3 separate regions of the Homo sapiens genome follow, and all the other regions are linked to region 2. Evidence: promoter capture Hi-C in 16 types of primary human blood cells and fetal thymus (Javierre and others, 2016). All regions are on one chromosome and are shown on one strand. The core of a region is centred on a gene start or on the middle of the fragment in contact, and the rest is flanking DNA. Distances in the headings are between cores, read along the strand shown. Region 1 overlaps GLIS3 (GLIS family zinc finger 3). Region 2 holds the start of PUM3 (pumilio RNA binding family member 3). Region 3 has its middle 35 kb from the start of GLIS3.

Evidence for each region. Contacts are between HindIII fragments. The CHiCAGO score rates a contact against its expected background, and 5 or more counts as called.
Region 1: a contact is called between a fragment that was not itself captured here and the fragment with the promoter of PUM3 in region 2, in 7 of 17 cell types (naive CD4 T cells, monocytes, activated CD4 T cells and 4 more). The highest score is 10.9, in naive CD4 T cells.
Region 3: a contact is called between a fragment that was not itself captured here and the fragment with the promoter of PUM3 in region 2, in 1 of 17 cell types (total CD8 T cells). The highest score is 5.4, in total CD8 T cells.

What each region holds. Positions count from the first base shown.
Region 1 is chr9:4,293,475-4,296,250 of GRCh38, reverse strand. The region is part of intron 1 of GLIS3 (GLIS family zinc finger 3); the gene reads left to right. Among named protein-coding and RNA genes, the nearest start is that of GLIS3-AS2, 4.4 kb to the left of the region's middle. The HindIII fragment of the contact is 4,620 bases long and covers 1-2,776 here.
Region 2 is chr9:2,842,820-2,845,519 of GRCh38, reverse strand. It overlaps PUM3 (pumilio RNA binding family member 3), which reads left to right and starts at 1,425. Exons shown (of 18, transcript NM_014878.5): 1 at 1,425-1,475. RefSeq lists enhancers at 1,094-1,333, 1,157-1,451, 1,835-2,396. The HindIII fragment of the contact is 3,665 bases long and covers 1-2,700 here.
Region 3 is chr9:4,333,655-4,336,398 of GRCh38, reverse strand. It overlaps a transcript of GLIS3 not described here. Among named protein-coding and RNA genes, the nearest start is that of GLIS3, 35 kb to the right of the region's middle. The HindIII fragment of the contact is 5,205 bases long and covers 1-2,744 here.

The DNA of each region.
Region 1 (2,776 bases), core at 84-2,583, 1.5 Mb before region 2:
ATTCATTCTTTCCACTGTTGTCTCTCTCATATTATAATTATTGATCTTTGGAGTTGGAGTGTTAATTTACTCTTCTCCCAGATTATAGAATACATACTTCTTGAAGGAGATAACTCAGAGTGGCGTCACATGCACATTTCTCATCTCTGGAGAAGTCATTTTCTGTGTTTCTGTGATTATTTTCTGTAGAGGGCATTATATTGTAAATAAGGTGGAAATACAGGACTTAACTGTTTTACTTTTCCCTAAGTTTGGTTGGTTCATAGACTATCAGGACTGGGGAAAAAAGGCACATAGGAAATCTGTGTGATAAAAAAAAAACTTGTTGCCATTCTCATTCAAGGAAGATGACACATAACAAAACCTTTGAAATGACATTGATACATAGTTTGATTAAAAGATGTCCAAGTCCCCAGTTTTTGTAGTTTCCCACTTACTTTAGGCAGAGTTGACACAAAAGCCAAATTTTCTATTGAGATGAAATATCCTTACGGAAAAGCACACTTATCTTGAGCTCGATGCATTTTTTTGCAAGTGGAACACACCCACATAACTAGTCTCCAGATCAAGAAACAGAGCATTATCAACACACCAGAAACATCTCTCACACTCCATTCTAGTTACCACCTCTGCCTAAGGTAACCGTTGCCCTGGTTTCTAACAGATATATTAGTTTTGTCTGGTTTTTTTAAAAAAAATCTTGTGTAAATGGAATAATTCAATATGCACTCTTGGGTCTGGCTTCTTTCGCTCAACACAACAACCTTTTATTAGGTCAAATAATTTGGACTCCCCCTTTAAAGATGATGGAAACAGTCTGGCTTGCAGAAATTAGTGAGGCATTACTTAATATGATAGAATTAAGGAAAAACACTAACCAAACTGAAGCCATATTTATATTCTGATGACAGTCTGGTTAGGGAGACCAAACAGACACAAGTGAAATGTCTAATGTGACACCAGTGTAGGAAGCAGGAAAATTCAGAGGCGTTCCTTCCACTAAGGCAACCCAGAGTGTATTTCACCGTCCTTTCGTGAGGGCCAGCAACCCCCATAATAAAAAAAAAAGTAAGTGCCTGGTTTCAGTATTGAACTGTTCATTTGCAACTTTTAGCTGGGATTTTTCATTGTTCACCAGTAGGCCAAGATAAAGGCAAGAATAACATGCCTACCCAGAAGAATGGAATAGAATTTCTGTGCCACTTTTTCCTAGTAGAGAAAGGAAAAGACTAGGAAACATGCAACTGTAATTAAACTGGTTCCATAAGCCATGGGATTCATGATTATGGTCACACCTCACTTATATTGTATTTATTCAGGCAGTAAATTATAGATGTGGGTTATAATTGTATATTTCACTTACACCATGTTTTTCAGTATGAGCAGTACAGAATGAACAATATAAATAGAATAAATGTATGTGAATATATAGATGTAGCATAACTATATGATAAATGTACTGTGAAAAATATATATAGGTGTAAAACAATCTGTGTACATGTAAGGGCTGGGGAAAGTTCAAAGATAAATTAGCTATGACCCCAAAACTTAATAAAATTAGAATTTAGACAGGAAAGTGAAACACAGGCAAATAACTGTAATGTAGTGTAGAAAGTTATGAATGTTGAAAGAGAGGTGTGTAGAGTAAAATAACATTTATTGGGTCCTTTTGTGTGCTGAACAGTGTGCTAAGCATGTGATGTGGATTCTCATTTATTATTCTGTAATTTTTTTTTTTTTTGAGACATAATTTCGCTCTTGCTGCCCAGGCTGGAAAGCAATGGTGTGATCTTGGCTTACTGCAACCTCCCCCTCCTGGGTTCAAGTGATTCTCCTGCCTCAGCCTCCCAAGTAGTTGGGATTACAGGCATGTGCCACCATGCCTGGCTAATTTTGTATTTTTAGTAGAGATGGGGGTTTCACTGTGTTAGTCAGACTGGTCTCGAACTCCTGACCTCAGGTGATCCACCCACCTTGGCCTCCCAAAGTACTGGGATTACAGGCGTGAGCCACCGCACCTGGCCCATTATTCTGTAATATTATGAACTATGCACAGTAGCATCATTATCCCCATTTTTACAGGTCAGATTTATAGAGACTAAAAAAGGATCAAGGAGGGCCTAAAGTGGGTGTTTGGGGTGGGCTTAGAGGATAAGTAGGATCTGGATTTGGGGGAAAAGAGAACAAAATAAAGGAGGAGGGAAAAGACCATCGAGCTGGACTCTAAGGCGGTTTGTAGAATTAACAGAAACAAAGATCCAATCATGTTCCACTTTGGGAAGAAAAGGAATTTGTAAAACTTGAATTATGAGGTTCTCAGTAGCTGAGGGCAGACTTGAGTCAAGGAAAGCTGGTGGGGCCACCCTTGTCTGACATGATCTCTTCAAAGCCAGGAACAAGAATGACTGCACATTCCTTCAGGAGCAGCAAGACTTGCTCAACTGCAGATGGGCAGATAGCGTCACAATGCAAGATCAGATCCTGTCCTATGCTCCATGATAAAGAGATCAGACTTTCTGAATACCAGTGATTTCTAAAGTTCTAAGCCAGCTCCATCAAATTTCTTTTGTAGGCCTGCTGAATATTGTACACAGAAAACCAACCAGATGCCAGGGCTAGTTACGAAGTTTTGTTATTCTTGTGTGTGAAGAAATGGATTAATGTTTTCCCAACCTTTTCAGCATGACCGATAGATTCCACTTCTGTCTGTAACTTGGCTGAGTCATTCACAGAGGTTTTCAAAAAATCTTTTTAATAAATATGTTGTCATGTTGGT
Region 2 (2,700 bases), core at 176-2,675:
GACCAAAGCTACTATGTTTTGCCTTTCTCTGTAAAATGAGAAAAGACCTATTTAAAACGTTCTTATGAGATTTAAATGAGCTGAAATGTAAACTAGTAACAGTTAAGGTAGACGACAAGAACTTATCAAGTATCTATGTGCTGCATAGTGAGATAAGTGCCTGGAAAGTAATGATGGCCCCTGTCATCAAGAAGCATACAGTCTACTAAATTACCAGTTTCAACTCTAACTCCTTAGTGGCCAGAAAACGGAGTAAGTTGGAAGACAGTAAAATCTGAAGTCTGGCACCAGGGATCAAGTGCCAGTTCCTCAACTTTACAGATGCAGTGGGTTGAATAGTCTCCAAAAGATATGTCTATGTCCTAACTCCCAGGACATGTGAAAGTGACCTTATTTGGGAAAAGGGCCTTTGCAGATGTGATTAAGGACCTCCAGATGAGATGATCTTGGATTATCCCCGTGGACTCTAAATTCAATGTTCAGTGTCCTAAAAACACACAGAGAAGTGGCACAGGCACAGGAGAAGGCCATTAGAAGACAGGCCGAGATTGGAGTCATGCAACAAGAGGCCACGGACCGCCTGGAACCGTTAGAAGCTGAAGAAGCAAAGCATTCTCCCCTAGAGCCTTCAAAAGGTGCAGGGCTCTGCCAACAGCTTGATTTTGGAATTCTTGCCTCTAGAACAGTTAAAGAATAAAATTCTGTTGCTTGACACGAGCAAGTTTGTGGTGTCAGTTTCTTCATCTGGAAAATGGGGCATATATCCTAACCACAATCTTATTTCCTGAAGTATAAAATGGAATAACAGCAGTTTCCAGGCACGAGCAGACACTAAAAATGGCAAACATTTATTGAGAGCGTTCCATGCTAAGCGCTTTGCACGTATCACTTAATTATTTCTATTTTATTGATCAGGAAGCCAAAGCTCATAAAAACTGTAATTTTCCCAGAGCCACACAGCTAGCAAGTGAAAAAAACGGGATTACAATTCAAATCGACTCACAAGATACCCCTTTTATCCTCCACGCTGGACTGCTGAGGAAGTATGCAAATTAACACACTTTAGAAACTTTAGCTACTTCAATATTTGTTCAGGCTACGGGATGCAGGCCTCTTATTAACCGCGCCAGCCAGGTCTGTCCTTCAGCAGCCTGTTCTGCCTCGCAAGAGCTCTCCCTCTCTTTCCAGCACGGAAGCCACAGGGTTAATGACGTCATTTCCCGTGGCCGTTGTCGCGTCCTCCGCCCGACGGATTCTTGCAAGGGCCAAAATCCTCGCGCCTCAAGAGGAGGCATAACAGCAGCGGACCAATAGAAATTCCGAATTTTTGTATTCTCTGGGAAGCTCCACCTCTTAGTCCCTGATCCGCCGCGGAAGATGAAAAAAAGCGGCCCGGGGGCGGAGCAAGGCAAGGAAGCGGAAGCGGAGAGGCGGTCGGGATCCGCTGCGCGAGCTGTCTCGGTCCCACGTGTGCGGTGAGTGTGGCAGGCTCAGCGGTCGCTCTTGGGAGGGGTTCGCACCCTGCCGGGCGCTGGAAGTCGGGAAGGTCTCTCGGGGCTGTTGTCCACTGGGCAGTCTCCTCTGGCCTCTTTCTGGGCTAGGAGTTTGGGACTGACTGGAGCCTGGCAAGAAGGGCGGGACTGGCCGGGCGCGGTGGCTCACGCCTGTAATCCCAGCACTTTGGGAGGCCGAGGCGGGCGGATCACAAGGTCAGGAGATCGAGACCATCCTGGCTAACACGGTGAAACCCCGTCTCTACTAAAACTACAAAAAATTAGCCGGGCATGGTGGCGGGCGCCTGTGGTCCCAGCTACTTGGGAGGCTGAGGCAGGAGAATGGCGTGAACCCGGGAGGCGGAGCTTGCAGTGAGCCAAGATCGTGCCACTACACTCCAGCCTGGGAGACAGAGCAAGACTCCGTCTCAAAAAAAAAAAAAAAAAAAAAAAGAAGGGCGGGACTCCGACCTCTCTCCCACCACGTTGCCCTGCGTGCCGGGTTAGAGTGGACTAGCTTCACTCCGGAATCCCAGCCCGTGCTCGGCCTGATCAGCCTGTCTGTGCTACTTCACAAACCCCAACTCCAGTGCTAGGCGGTTTGCCTGAATGTACGCAGATTCTAAGTGCTGGGAGGAAACGAACTGGATGCTGAGTTGGCAGATAGTGGAGTCTGAAGAAGTGATCTTTAAACGGAGATTTGGAAGCTCAGGGAGTACTTCAAGCAGAGGCGATAATGGGCTAAGTTCCTGAGATGGGAGCTAGGAAGGAGTATAGTTAGAGTACAAGATAAAGTTAGCCGGATAGAGTGGAACTAGGTTCTGTAGGGCCTTGAAGGTCATGATGGGGAATTTTTTTTTCTGTACAATAGGAAAACATTTCCGTTCCTATTACCATGTGTAGAAAACATTGAAGACTTGTAAGCAAGTGAGAATCATGAATAGGCCCTGGTTCTCTTTAGAAAATGTATTACATTTGGAAGCTCAAGAGATTGTATTGGTAATAGTTTGCATTAGGGTGGTGACGTAAGGGACATTTAAGAGAACTAACTTATGGTTCAGCGTGGCAGAGTAGAGAGGAAAATGTCAAGGGTAACTCAGATTTCTTACTTGAGCAGTAAAGTAGATGATGTGCCATTGGCTGAGATGGAGGACGATAGGGCAGGGAAAAATAGTATATTGTTGTTTGTGGGGCAAACAACAATAAC
Region 3 (2,744 bases), core at 178-2,677, 1.5 Mb before region 2:
GTGACCTGGCCTGGCCTGGTGGCTTTGGCCCTGTGGAGCAACTTTAATGCTAGTTACAGCAGCACCAGGGGCTTAGTGGATAGATAGCTTAGCCATAGAGATCTCTGAAAGTATTCAGAGCTAAAGAAGAGGAAACCCATATATCACATGTGGCCATGGAGAGGACTGATTTTGAATCCACATGAGATGCTTTTTGGAGACTCCCAAGATTAGGTCAGGGAGAAGAGTTGGCAGTGGGCTAGAGCCAGAGAACTATTGCTTTCTACTGCTATTGTGACCCTACTTTAATATCATGCCATGTGGCTTATGGGTAACAAACAGATTGGGAAATGGAGGCCCACAGAGGTGTAATGACTTACTCAAGATCTCACAGCACATCATCTCCAAACTCAGGTTTTCTAACTGCTTGCTCCCTGCCCTTTCTTCTTCATCACCTGTCACCAAGTAAATTTACCGAAGTCCGCAAATTTTTACCTTAGGTTGTCATAGCTCTGTATTAACTAACTGAATTTCTTGGAACTGGATACAAACACCAAGGCTGGAATGAGGGAAGAATCACCTTATCCTGTTAAATCTGGTTCAATGGGGGAAGGACCCTGGGGCAATTCAGAGTAGGGCAAGGGACCCAGGGGATGCCAAGTGTGTTCTGAGGCTTCTTGAAAGGGATGGATGCCTCTAAGAGAGGTCTAAATAGATCCTGATGTTTCAGGTTTAAACTAAAACCCTAAGCCGTGTTGAAAGTGCCCTTGTTTAACCCCGGGCTACTTAGGGTACTACAGGTGAGATGCCAGGTGTAAGCTAGGTTAACGCCATCCCCAGGGCTGGTGAGGGAGATAGACACCAGAACCACTGAATTCTGCCTGTTTTTCACACTTGAAGGCTTTGCACAGGAAAGCACGTGGAGCAGAAGTGATAATTCAGATGATTAGAGCAGAAGCCCTTTATGGAGTAGCATTACCAGATCTTTTTATTTGCTATATCTGGCAAGTTTACGAGCAACTGAGGATTTACTTTAACTGAACCATTTGGTTTAGCTGTCTACAATTAATTGATCAATTTCACAGGTTAATTGGCTTAGGGCTTCATTTCACTTTGTGGTATAGACTTTGATCGTCACTGGAGTTATTTCTTATGCTTCTAATTTGTTTCAATTATGGCACTAAGATGCTCAGTAAAAATGAGTGGAAATGGGGCCAGGTACGGTGGCTCATGCCTGTAATCCCAGCACTTTGGGATGCCAAGGCGGGTGGATCACGAGGTCAGGAGATCAAGACCATCCTGGCTAACATGGTGAAACCTCGTCTCCACTAAAAACACAAAAAATTAGCCAGGTATAGTGGCGGGCGCCTGTAGTCCCAGCTACTCGGGAGGCTGAGGCAGGAGAATGGCATGAACCCGGGAGGTGGAGCTTGCGGTGAGCCGAGATCACACCACTGCACTCCAGCCTGGGTGACAGAGCAAGACTCCGTTTCAAAAAAAAAAAAAAAAAAAAAAGGTGGAAATGATTTCTCTTCTGAGAGCTGCTCTTATTGTAGTTGTGGGTTGAAGAGAGCAGGCATGACTGCCCATGGCTGGGCATGCTTTTAAAGGTCAGAGTACAAAATGGCCTTGGACAAGCCCCAGGTTCGCTGTAAGTGGCCTTCTGTAGCACCTTTGTGTGTGAGAATGAATGCTGTGACTCATAAGGGCAGTAGTGTGGATTGAGGGAGTATAAGGAGAAGACAGGCAAAGCAGCATGGGGACAGTGGCTGAACAGGCCCAGTGCTCACTAGGCCAGGTTGGGCTGTTTGGCGTTCACCTAGGTAACCTGTTGCCAGGAGGACAACAATAACTTCCCCATGACAACGCTGGAGCAAGAGCCCTGGCACTGCAAACAGAGCCAGAAAAGTCTGCCCTAGCTTGGACTTGCTGATTAATGAACATGCATTTGCACTACAATTGTTTCAGGAAGGGTGGAGGGGACAGAGGGCACTGACCAGCTTCCTTGCCTCTCCAGCCACCAGCTCCTTGACAGCCAACCTTTTCTGTCTACCCACATACTCTGTAGCTGCCACGTTTTAATTGTTGCTTGTTTTGAGAGGTTCTGTGATCTCTCTGTAATTTGTAGAAGGACTGAATGTTATATCCAGAAAGCTCCTTGGGAAACAGATTTAGAACCTGCCTGGAATTTACACTATCAGATGGTCTTTCACTGTCCCCTTTACTCAGTTTCTTTACCTGTAGTAGAATCAATTCCTATTACCTAAATTTGGGTGAATTTTTATGAGATCTCACTGCTCAGTCAGAACTTGCTGTAACTGTTTGTCTTGATACTCAAATTCAAGCCCTCTGAATTATGAGACTAGAGTATTGTCTGCCTCATGAAGAGGTCACTTTTGTTTCTAAGCACTTAAGCTCCTAACAGGAACCCTAGTCCTTTCCTCTCCTGCAGAGGTCATCAGAGCAGACAAGGTGGCACCATTCCAGGTAGGATTTAAGGAATCCAAGAAATTCCCAATGCAAAGTGGTTTTCCCTGGCGTTGCCTGAAATCGCACCTTTTTGTAAAGTGTTGTTTGGAGCTTTATGATAATATAATTTCTCTTGGGAGGATATTTCCAATCAGGTGTAACAGCTGGAAGTGAGGGGAATCAAAACAGATGAAGTTGCGGGGGGTGGGGGGGGGCATCACATTGCTTCACAATTACGTCTAGAGCCACCCTTCACAAAAATCCCATTGGAAGCTAATAGCATTATTTGACAAAAG